Linked DNA regions of Homo sapiens: regions 1 and 3 are each linked to region 2. The links are contacts of gene promoters, found by promoter capture Hi-C in human tissues and cell types (Jung and others, 2019). All regions are on one chromosome and are shown on one strand. The core of a region is centred on a gene start or on the middle of the fragment in contact, and the rest is flanking DNA. Distances in the headings are between cores, read along the strand shown.

Region 1 (3,906 bases), core at 543-3,042, 220 kb before region 2:
GGCCACCCCTTGGGCTGTCTTGTATTTGCTGGTGATTAGGCATAGCTTGGGCTTTGTTGGCAGGAGCACTGCAGCGGGGACACCTGGTCCTTGCCAGGTGTCTCATCAGGAGGCCTGCAGTGCCCCTTTGCCCCATCACTGGTGATGCTAGCTTTATCACTGGGTGGAAAGGGTGTCGGCCAGGTTTGTCCACTGTAAAATAAGTACTTCGTGCCCAGATTAAATAGTAATGAGGCTGAGTGCAGTGGTTCACGCCTGGAATCCCAGCACTTAGGGAGGCCAAGGTGGGTGGATCACCTGAGCTCAGGAGTTTGAGACCAGCCTGGGCAACATAGCAAAATCCTATCTCTACCAAAAATTTTAAAATTAGCCTGGCGTGGTGGCATGCGCCTGTAATCCCAGCTACTTAGAGGCTGAGGTGGGGGGATCACTCAAGCCCAGGAGGCAGAGGTTGCATTGAGCCAAGATCATGCTGTTGCACTCCAGCCTGGGCTACAGAGTGAGAGCCCATCTCAAAAAAAAAAAAATTAGTAATGAGTGCCTGGACAACATAGCAAGACCTTGTTTGTACTAAAAAGAAAAATATTGGCCAGGCACAATGGCTCATGCCTGTAATCCCAGCACTTTGGGAGGCCAAGGCAGGCATATCACGATGTCAGGAGATCGAGACCATCCTGGTCAACACGGTGAAACCCCATCTCTACTAAAAATACAAAAATTAGCTGGGTGTGGTGGTGCACGCCTGTAATCCCAGCACTTTAGGAGGCAGAGGCGGGCAGATCATGAGGTCAGGAGTTCAAGACCAGGCTGAGAAACATGGTGACACCCCGTCTCTACTAAAAATACAAAAAATTAGCCAGGCGTGGTGGTGCATGCCTGTAGTCCCAGCTACTAACGAGGCTGAGGCAGGAGAATCGCTTGAACTTGGGAGGCAGAGATTGCAGTAAGCCGAGATGGAGCCACTGCACTCCAGCCTGGTAACAGAGTGAGAGTCTGTCTCAAAAAAAAAACAAAAACAAAAAACAAAGAAAGAAAAACATTAGCCAGGCATGCAGGCATGGTGGTGTGCACTGTGGTCCCAGCTACTTGGGAGGCCCGGGTCTAGGAGGTTGAGGTTGCAGTGAGCTGTGATCACAGCACTGCACTCCAGCCCAGGCAACAGAATGAGACCCTGTCTCAAAAAAAAGAAAAATTGGTAATGATGATTTACCGGGAAGATGTATAGAGACTATGTATTATCACTAGTATTAACATCAACTGTTGATTCTTTTCTCTTTTTTTTTAAGTGAAAGCAAGTTTATTAAGAAAGTAAAGGAATAGAAGAAGGGCTACTCCATACACAGAGAAGTCGATTCTTTCCTTTTTTCAAATTGATTTTATTTTACTTTAAGACAGGATCTTGTTCTCTCACCCCAGGCTGAAGTACAGTGGCATGATCTAGGCTCACGGCAGCCTCAATCTCTTAGGCTCAAGTGATCCTCCTGCCTCAGCCTCCCAAGTATCTGGGACTACAGGCATGCATCACCACATCTGAATGCTTTTTTTTTTTTTTAATAGAGATGGGTTTTGCCCATGTTGCCCAAGCTGGACATCTTATTTTTTTTAGAAACAGAGTCTCGCTCTGTCACCCCAGGCTGGAGTGCAGTTGGTGCCATCATAGGTCACTGCAGCCTCAACTCCTAGGCCCAAGGAGGGAGCCATTTTCCCTTCTCAGCCTTCTAAGTAGTTAGGACTACAGGCACACCCCACCGTGCCCAGCTATTTCATGTTTTAATGTTTTTGTAGAGACGGGGTCTCACTGTGTTGCCCAGGCTGGTCTCAAGTGCCTGGCCTCAAGAGATCCTCCTGCCTTGGTTTCCCAAAGTGCTGAGATTTCAGGCGTCTCACGCAGGTCCCATGCCTGGCCTCACTTGATTCTTGACCAAATAAGCTATTAATAGGGCAGTTGCCAAGTGGTGGTTCCCTAACTTCATTCTTCCTGTATTGGGTCAGTGGTCGCTCTGCGGGAAGGAAGACTTTTCTCTTTGCTATTTGTTTATTCAGGTGTATCAGTGTGGATTTGGGGCAGGGGTGAGGTTTGTGCATTGTGCAATTGAACAAGTTGTAATACGTCCCTGCTGTCATTGATTTTGATGTCCAGATCGCCCCTGGCCTGGCCAGCAGGAGCTCCTACCTTGGGCCTGTTTCCGTGTCTCCCTCAGGACACCAGCCATGCCCTTTGCTTCCTGTAGCCTCCAGCACACTAGCCCCCTGAAGCGACACTTCTCTCATCAGATGTCTGTGAATGCAGACCCCGCCTCCCAGGAGATCTGGAGGTCAGAAACTCTGCTCCGGGTGAGAGCTGAGCTGGTCTCAACGTCTGTTTCAAAAGAAACTGGTCAGCCATCTTCCACTATATGGGTCAGAGTCCCAGAGGCGGCCGCTTAGCCCAGGGCTGATTCTAAATTGTTGGCATTTTCCTGGTATGACATTTAGAAAACATGAATATAAGTCTGCCCACCCACCTAACTTACTTGTCATTCATGGTGTTTTTCATCCCAGGATCCCCTGTCCATCGGAGTCGTTTCATTTGCCCATTGTGATATAATTGTTGCGGTCTCTTGGTGTCCGTCTCTCGTGTTGCTGGAGATGCTTCCTATGATTACCATCATGTGGATATTAAGCGTTGCCCCAGTAGCACTTTTGTGACACGGAATGGTGAGGGGTTTGTGCAGCCTCCACAGGCCTTCTGTTGATTCAGGGGATCCAAATAGTAGGTGACAGAGTCCCTTGTCTGTCCTGGGGGGCTCCAGCCTCTCACGATGGTGTGGACTGGCTCACTCCCTGAGTGCTATCCACCAGGTCCTGGCTGTGTCTTCTGAGCATAACTTGGAGAGATTTGGCAGGTGCTGCTCCTGACACTGGATCCTAGGACTGACTTGGTAGCCACAGCCTCGCCGTTGACACCTGGGAAGTAGATAAGATAGGATTCTGTCTCCGACCTTGTACATAACTCCTAATATGTGGGGTGCCGTGCTTTTTGAAGCCTCCACACCATTTCACAACAACCTCGGGTGCTAGAATGATAGGGACCATTGTCCCTGGGAGGGGCATGGTCCCCAGAGGGGACCATGATACCCAGATGGCTCTTGGCTGTGTGGACCATGGGATGTGCTGGCTGTGAAGAGGGCAGGAGACCATGACACAAGCTTACAACAGGACAGAACTGGAAGGTTCTGCTGTTTCCTGGACCAAAGCATTAATGCTTTTCGTTTTTTTAATTAAGAAAAAAACTGTAATTGTAAAATATACATAACATAAAATTTACTGTCTTAACCATTTCCAAGTGTACAGCCAGTAGTATTAAATACATTCACGTTGTTGTTATCTGTAGCACACAGTACTTCTTTGTGTGTGACTGGCATGCTTCAGTTAGCATAATGGATTCAAGATTAATCCGTGTTACAGCATGTGTCAGAATTTGCTTCCTTTCCAATCTCCAGAATCTTGCAAAACTGAAACTGAACCGACCAGGCATGAGAGCTCACTCCTGTAATCCTAGCACTTTGGGAGACCAAGGTGGGAAAGATTGCTTGAGGCCAGGAGTTTGAGACCAGCCTCGCCAACATAGTGACACCCCGTCTCTCTCTCTCTTTTTTTTTTTTTTTTTTTTTTTTTTTTGAGACAGAGTCTCACTCTGTCGCTTAGGCTGGAGTGCAGTGGTGCGATCTCAGCTCACTGCAATCCCTGCCTCCCGGGTTCAAGTGATTCTCCTGCCTCAGCCTCTTGAGTAGCTGGGATTACAGGCACCTGCCACGGTGCCTAGCTAATTTTTATATTTTTAGTAAAGACGGGGTTTCACCATCTTGGCCAGGCTGGTCTTGAATTTCTGACTTCATGATGCACCCGCCTCGGCCTCCCAAAGTG
Region 2 (4,112 bases), core at 1,091-3,590:
ATTCTCTTACATAATCACAGTACTATTATCACATGCAATAAATTTCATATTGATACAATATGACCTAAGATACAGCCCATTTTCAAATTTCCTCTTGTCCCAAACTGCCCTTTATCAATTTTTTTGGATCTATCCCCTAAGCAAGGAACATGCATTGCATTTGACTGTCAAGTTTCTTGAGGACTATAAAGCATTGTGACACACTACAGAAGTGAGGCACAGCTCACAATACACGTTTTGCAGCTGTTTCTAGCTGGCTATAATCTGCCATCACCTCTTTTGAGTGGCAGACTGACAAAATCACAAAATGCTAAAAAAAAAACAAAAACCCAAAGACCCCTTATTCCTCCACATCTTTCACTCTACTGTGCTCTCTTTGTCAACTGCACCCTTCTAAATACAACCATGGGGTGAGGTGGTTGCGGTAGAAAAACAAAATGAGGAACAGAGTTCACAGTCTGTAAAAGGAGGGATCTGGGTCCCATTTGGCTGCAGAAGTTCCCAGGGCCAATTCCTTGCTGAGCCCCCAGATTCTCTAAATCTCCAGGACTCTCCATGAAGGCCCCATGCCAGGGGCTGGGTACAGAGGAAAGCACACAGGGATGTGTCCCCTACCGCCACTCTTAACCAAGTGCTGCAATCCAGCCCTTCCTGAGCTGCTCCACGTGCCCCTGTCTGATTCCAGTCCCAGTAAACCAACCGTGCAAACATCCTGCACCAACCCCTGGCCAGCACGTGGATAGGCAAAGCGACCCCATGTGAGCCGTCAACTACTTTCTCAGATTCCACTAAAACCACTCCTCAGAGCTCCCAGCACAGCGCTGGGCAGAGAGATCCCCAGCAACTGACCCACTGAATTGGACTGGGCGAGACATTCAATAGAGCACATCTCGAGGGCACACCTCGGGCAACATCTGGACTCTTCACTTGGAGCTGTTCCCACTGCCCAGAGCTTCCTGAGGACTGGCCAGCAGGTACCCGGGTGAAGGTCTGTGGAAGGCTGACGATCCAGGGCTGGGGAGGGAATGTGCCAACCCTCTTCATAAAGAAGGAAGAACACACAGCCACTCACCTTGGACCTGGCTTCGGGAAGACCCCAACCCGATATATCCTCGAGATTCTCTTTCAGGGAAAGAGCAGGATCCTGAGAGGAAAGAGCTGGCGAAGGAGAAATGAGTCAAGGTCACGGCTACCAGGCTCACGGCTGAGCTTAAAGCCCACCTGTCGTGGCACAAGTGAGAATCAGAGAGGAGGCAGAACCTGCCAGCAAGGCCAGGTGGGGAACGAGCCCCAGTAGCTAGCACCAACAGAAACAGCATCGAGGAATAATCTGCCTGTGTCTCAGACACTCCAATTCATGACGAAAAGAGCTGCTACCCCCAATCAAGCACGTCTGAGTGGGAACAAATGATTGGGCGCGGGGAAGAAAGAAGCAGGAGGCCAGGAGCGATGGCTCACGCCTGTAATCCCAGCACTTTGGGAGGCCGAGGCGGGCGGATCGCTTGAGCTTAAGACCAGCCTGGGAAACATGGCAAAACCCCGTCTCTACTAAAAATACAAACATTAGCCGGGCGTGGTGGCGCGCGCCTGCAATCCCAACTACTTGGGAGGTTGAGGCGGGAGAATAGTTTGAACCCGGGAAGCAGAGGTTGCAGTGAGCGGAGATCAAGCCATTGCACCACTCCCGCCTGGGTGACAGAGTGAGATTCCATTTAAAAAAAAAAAAAAAGATGCTGGATGCTTCTGGGAAACTGGCCTGATCTCTCTGAGTGTCAATATCCTCAAGTGCAAATCCACAGACATACTGACTACAAGAGTGAAGCTGTACCTGTCTTCTCGGGCTCCGGGGCAGGGATCTCCATGGCCTCCACGGCAGCCTCCCCAGGAGGAGTGGGCAGCTGTGTAGCCTCCAGGATCCAGGGCAGGCCCTGAAGAGCGAGTACTGCTCCTGGGGCTGAGGGGCCTGCAGCGGAGCCCCGCGGGGCGGCCACGCGCTCACAGCTGCACGATCACACGCACGGAGCCCCCTCCCCGCGCCCGGCTGAGGTGGGGTTCAGGCCGGCTCCGCAGATACCCACTCCCCACACCAGGCTCAGCCCCATGCTCGGCGCACTCACGCCCCGGCACACCCCCGCCACACGCTCCTCCCGGCGAACCCGCGCTCGGAGACCAGGGCCAGGCCTAAGGTTCCGCGGCCAGGAGCCATCGGACGCGGAGCGACCAGCGGACAGGTCCCGAAGCGGACAGAGACCGCCGACGGTCTGAGGGACCGGCAAGTGGACAGACCGGACTCCCACAAAAGGACTGCGACTGCCACAAAGAGCAGCAGGCGGCCGCTGCGGGAAAGCGCGCCTGCGCGAAATAGGCGCAAACTACACCTCCCGGGAGCGTTTGCGCCGCGCAGGCGTCAGACTCCATTTCCTAGAGCGAGTTCGGGCCGGTGCTTGCGTCCCGACGCGAACGAGTATCTAGCACATCCTTCTAGGAAATGTAGTTCCTGGGCCCACAGCCGGGAGCTCCGGCACCCACCATGCTCTTGCGGGCGGATGTCGCTGTGTATCTCCGTGTGCGGATCAGTGTAGTGCCGCTGCATGGGTGTCTAATTGCGAGGATACTGGGAGGGCGGTGTCCAGGAACTAGAATTTGTCCTGTTAGTTCGTCCACGTCCCCACGTAGCTGGGAGTCGGGTGGGTTCCTGCCCACATCTGTCTGCAGGAAAGACTCAAGCCCCTGGTCTTACGGATATTGGGAGTGGTGGGTCTGGCCTCGAGGGGTTTTCCAGGGGCCCTGCCCCCACTCCCCCTTCTCGAGCCACATATCTGAGGCCCATGGGCGCGGGTCCCCAGAGGTGGGAGAGCCTTGGCCTAGTCCCCCCAGAGGGTCCTGTCCACAGTTCACCCCTGGGGCGGGAAAGGAAGGTCTGGGTGGCGGCCCAGTCCTGGCGGCACAGAGCTCTGCCATGAACACAGTGATGACGCCAGCGACAGAAACATTGAATATGTACTGAGCACCAACCAAACGCCAGGCCTACTTCAAGAGCTTGGAGTACATTTTTCTGGCAGAATGCTCACAGCAGTCCAGGGAGGTTTGCTAACTACTGTCATCCCATTTGGGAGATGAGGAAGTTGTGGTACAGGTGCGTGGGGTAACGTGTCGCAAATCACACAGCCAGAAGTAGGAATCCAGCACCGAAGTGCATTGCCACATTCCTACTGAGAGGTGGTCCGGGGTGGTGCACACTCCAAACCCTTCAGCCTCCCACCTTAACCGCAGCTTAGGCTTGGCCACAGGCTCTCACGTGACACCTGTCCACTGCCCACATCAGCACAGCTGTGCCCAGACCTCCCCTGCCCAGGGCAGCGCCCGTGTTTGATTTTGTTTTGAGACTGGGTCTCACTCTGTCGCCCAGGCTGGAGTGCAGTTGCACAATCACGGCTCACCGTAGCCTCAGTCTCTCGGGCTCAAACTATTCTCCCACCTCAGCCTCCGGAGTAGCTGGGACTTACAGACATGCACCACCACGCCCGGTTAATTTTTATATTCAGCGCCCATTTTTAATAGCAACCCAGTGAGAGGGGACAGCGTGCTGGCAGTCCTCACAGCCCTTGCTCGCTCTCGGCGCCTAGTCGGCCTTGGCGCCCACTCTGGCCGCGCTTGAGGAGCCCTTCAGCCCACCGCTGCACTGTGGGAGCCCCTTCCTGGGCTGGCTGCGGCCGGAGCCGGCTCCCTCAGCTTGCCGAGAGGTGTGGAGGGAGAGGCGCGGGCGGGAACCGGGACTGCGCGCAGCGCTTGCGGGCCAGCACGAGTTCCGGGTGGGCGTGGGCTCAGCGGGCCCCGCACTCGGAGCTGCCAGCCGGACCCGGGCAGTGAGGGGCTTAGCACCTGGGCCAGCAGCTGCTGTGCTCGACTTCTCGCCGGGCCTTCGTTGCCTCCCCGCGGGGCAGGGCTCGGGACCTGCAGCCCGCCATGCCTGAGCCTACCCACCGCCGTGGGCTCCTGCGCGGCCCAAGCCTCCCCGACAAGCGCCGCCCCCTGCTCCACGGCGCCCAGTCCCATCGACCACCCAAGGGCTGAGGAGTGCGGGCGCACGGCGCGGGACTGGAAGGCAGCTC
Region 3 (3,982 bases), core at 1,327-3,826, 140 kb before region 2:
AAAAAAAAAAAAAAAGAAAGAAAGAAGCAGGCTGAGCACGGTGGCTCACGCCTGTAGTCCCAGCACTTTGGGAGGCCAAGGCGGGCAGATCACGAGGTCAGGCGAGCACGACCATCCTGGCTAACACAGTGAAACCCTGTCTCTACTAAAAATACAAAAAATTAGCTGGGCATGGTGGCAGGCGCCTGTAGTCCCAGCTACTCGGGAGGCTGAGGCAGGAGAATGGCATGAACCCGGGAGGCGGAGCTGGCAGTGAGCGGAGATTGCGCCACTGCACTTCAGCCTGGGCAACAGTGCGAGACTCCGTCTCAAAAAAAAAAAAAAGAAAGAAAGCAAAAGAAAAAAGAAACAAGCAAACATGTCAGGGCTCTGGGGCCTTGCCTCTGAGTGAATTGAATAGGCCCAGTCCAGCTCGTGCTAGAAAGCATTCTGACCACTCCAAACAGCAACCAGCCAACCTCAGGAAACTGAAGGAATGTACAGACGGGGCTACAGCAATATGACTGTGATTCTTAAAGACATCACAGAAAGGAGGTTTAATGCTGAGAGGTGCATACATCTGTCTTAATGTAAAAAGAAAAACAAAATGACATTGACCTACCACCCTGCTAGATTCAAAAAGCACTCTTGGGCTGGGCACGATGGCTCAGGTCTGTAATCCCAGCACTTTGGGAGGCCGAGGCAGGTGGATCACCTGAGGTCAGGAGTTTGAGACCAGCCTGGCTAACGTGGTGAAACCCTGTCTCCACTAAAAATACAAAAATTAGTCGGGTGTGGTGGCAGGCACCTGTGGTCCCAGCTACTCGGGAGGCTGAGGCAGGAGAATCGCTTGAACCCTGGAGGCAGAGGTTGCAGTGAGCCAAGATGGCACTACTGCACTCCAGCCTGGGCGACAGAATGAGACTCCTGCACTCTTGGAGTTCCTACCTCCCTGTCTGCTTCCTGAAGCCTGAAGGGAGGCGAGGAGGCAGCAAGGGGTTTCTGCTCACAAGGCATCCAGGTGTGGAACAGACAAGTAAGAAAGGTCACCAGGGCCACAAAAGATGAGAGAGTTAACAATCCAGGAGGATAATGACAACCAACTCACGCGCGGCACTGGGTCAGAGTCCTGGGGAAGCGAGGCATGGGTGGGCTGGGAGGACCCTGTACTCATGCTCTCAGGTTAGCATGGGGCAGGGTCTCCACACCCAGAGGCTGAGACGATAGCTGCTAGGCCCCAAGAAGTCAGTGAGCATTTCTGATAGAAGTGGCTGCACAGGCCTGTTTTCTGAAGGTTGCCTCATCTGTGCCCCTCAAGGCAGGTATGCCCTTCAAAGGCATACTTGTTCTTCCCACCTTCCTTTTTTCTTTTTCTTCTTTTGTTTTTTGAGACAATGTCTCACTCTCTCACAGGTGCAGCGCAGTGGGGCAAACACAGCTCACTGCAGCTTCAAACTCCTGGGCTCAAGTATCCTCTCACCTCAGCCTCCCAAATAGCTGGGACTACAGGCATGCGCCACCACGCCTGGCTAATTTTTTTATTTTTTACTTTTTTTGTAGAGACAGGGTCTTGCTTTGTTGCCCAGGCTGGTCTCAAACTCCTGGCCTTAAGTGATCCTCCACCTTGGCCTCCCAAAGCACTGGGACCAATAGGGAGACTCAGGGAAGAGCAGTAGAAACAGCAGGGGAGCATTTGCAGGCCAAGCAGGACGGCCTGGAGGCTGGCTGTGTAAGGAGTGGGGAGGCTGTGGGTGGCAGATGTGGCCAGGAGTCAGAGAGGAAGAAGGGTGCAGAAGAGTCTGGGGAGTGACAACCAGTTACACAGATGGGCTCTGTGCCCACCAGCAGCGATCAGAGAGCAAAGCCAGGCTTTGATACAAAAGCAGTCCTTTTGAGCTGCTACTGGCCGTTTTTGAGAGTGTCAGCAGACTGGCAGGCCCCAGACAGACACTGTCTTGGTGCAGCAGAGACACCTGGCACAGTCAGAGAGACAAGATCTAGAAACACAGCTTAGTGCAATAGCTCTGAGGTGGTGGGATGACCAGGTTGAAGAAATATGCTTGGTGAGCTGAAGGCAAGGTGGCACCATACACCAGGGGATGTACTGGCAGACGGGCCCTGTCCTGTCCTGGGTAATGTCACAGATGACATGGACACTGTGGGCACCGTCAGCTACTCAGAGCCTGAGGAGCATGGACCAAGCTGGAGGCCAGAAACAGGCAAGTCTTGACAGGCCAACACCAGGAAACCGAGTTGGGGTAAATGTCCAGTTCCACATGAGCTTCGGAGGGTCAGAGTGGGGCCAAGGAGCAAGGTGCTCCTCCGGCAAGGCGCTCCTCCAGCAAGGCTACCGCTCAGAACAGCAGCACTGTGCCATGTCACTCCCACATCTCTCCCACAGCATCCACCCAGGGAGGCCCAGCAGGTTTGGTGGCCAGTAACAGACCCTGTGTGGTTTTGCAGTTCTGACAACTGTATTTTTGAAAATGTCTTTGCTCCTGTTTCTAGTTTGAAGATCAAGTGTCACAAAATAGAGACAAAGCGAAAAAGAACCCAGGAACTCTGCAGCTAATCCCCCACACTTCCCTGCAGATGCCTGCCCTTTCCTCTCCAGCTGGCCTGGCGCTTTTCAGAGGCATCCCCTGCCTGGACATTGACTCCAGGAGGGTACCCATTTCACACTCCTGCTGAGGTCAAGTCCCCTTCCTTCCTCCCTTAGACCTAACACACCCGCTGCGGGAGGCTGCAGGCAGGACCCAGGCCCACCTTCAGAACAGCACTGGCTGCTCCCAAAGCCCCCTTCTGATCTCCCTGAGCTGGGCTCTGCTGCCATCCCCAGCATGCCTTCCTGAGCAGCCAGACCCGAATGGCTACTCCTCAGTCTCTGTCTCCTGAAAACAAAACCCTTCGAGCCACTGTCACGAAATGAAAGGAAACTATCACACAAGGAGACAGCCCCCAACATGGAGTAAGGAGCACAGCCTGAGACAAAGAACAGAGAACCCACATGTCACAGTGAGCTCTTCCCCCACACAAGCAAGCCGGGAAGACGAGGGCCTGTCCAGCCAGAGGAGGACAAAGAGCAGACTGGTGTCAGCTCACAAGGGAAGACCCTTGATGGCTGTCCTGCCACAGTCCTGTCCAACATAAGCAACAGGTTCACAAACAGTACAGGCCTATGAGGCGGCCACCAAAGAACCCAAGGCTGCCTGGGTGGTGCTCGCTCTAGCTGAGGAAGGGGGCTGGGGGCCACTCCCTGGTTGCGACCAGCCAGACCTCTGAACACAAGGACTGTTACCGGCTCAGAGCACACAGTCCCTTGCTGTGAACTGGGCTCCAATGCTCTGCCTTTGGCCATGGTCTAGCTGGTTGCCATAGCTATGTCTGTGTACTCAGTCAGGGTTCAACTGGTATCTAGCTTAGACTGAAGCCTCCCAGGGGACCGATTCATCATTACAGGCCCTTGGAGCTCCCCCACTAAGGGGTCTGAGGATGTCCTTACTGTCCAGAACTGTTCCCAGAACACAGTGTGTCTTAATGGCATTGCCCGACCCTGCCTGAGCAGCCAGCAGGGATACATCAAGAAAAGCTCTTCGTGTCTTCATCTCCCAGCACCAAGTGCCCATCCCAGAAACTTGGGAACTCCCTTCACTTTCTGACTGCCACCTTTAATTCTCCAAAGTTCAAATCTTTGCCCCAACTCCCACTGCATCTGTGGCAATTCCTCCCAAAGGGCCTCTGTCTCCCGTTCCCATTCCTACCCCCACGCCCTCGCCAGCTCCCCAGGTCACATGACTGCCAGTGAGCAACTGCCACTGAGTGTGGGAAGCAACCCAGGCCCCTGCTTGCTTTGAGCCTCGCTCCTCACCAGCAGAGCAGGCAGCCTGTCCAGGAGCCCACTGAGGAGCCTGCTCCTGCGCCTGCCCCACACACTCTCCCCAGGGCCCCAGGGATGATGACCTACTACCTGGCACATTGCCTGACTATCCCATCAGGCCTGTTA

Evidence for each region. The method cuts DNA at HindIII sites, captures the fragments that hold promoters and counts their contacts. A contact is called where the count stands out against the background at its distance.
Region 1: a fragment that was not itself captured here is called in contact with the fragment with the promoter of ZNF74 in region 2 in 2 of the 25 tissues and cell types used here (lymphoblastoid cells and mesenchymal stem cells).
Region 3: a fragment that was not itself captured here is called in contact with the fragment with the promoter of ZNF74 in region 2 in 1 of the 25 tissues and cell types used here (dorsolateral prefrontal cortex).

The regions. Positions count from the first base shown.
Region 1 is chr22:20,614,738-20,618,643 of GRCh38, reverse strand. It overlaps the pseudogene SMPD4P1. Among named protein-coding and RNA genes, the nearest start is that of MED15, 110 kb to the right of the region's middle. The HindIII fragment of the contact is 4,283 bases long and covers 1-3,906 here.
Region 2 is chr22:20,392,379-20,396,490 of GRCh38, reverse strand. It overlaps ZNF74 (zinc finger protein 74), which reads right to left and starts at 2,340. Exons shown (of 5, transcript NM_003426.4): 1 at 1,829-2,340; 2 at 1,073-1,158. The coding sequence starts at 1,862. RefSeq lists enhancers at 2,160-2,299, 2,770-2,839, 2,241-3,230. The HindIII fragment of the contact is 17,508 bases long and covers 1-4,112 here.
Region 3 is chr22:20,531,906-20,535,887 of GRCh38, reverse strand. The region is part of intron 1 of MED15 (mediator complex subunit 15); the gene reads right to left. Among named protein-coding and RNA genes, the nearest start is that of MED15, 26 kb to the right of the region's middle. The HindIII fragment of the contact is 8,855 bases long and covers 1-3,982 here.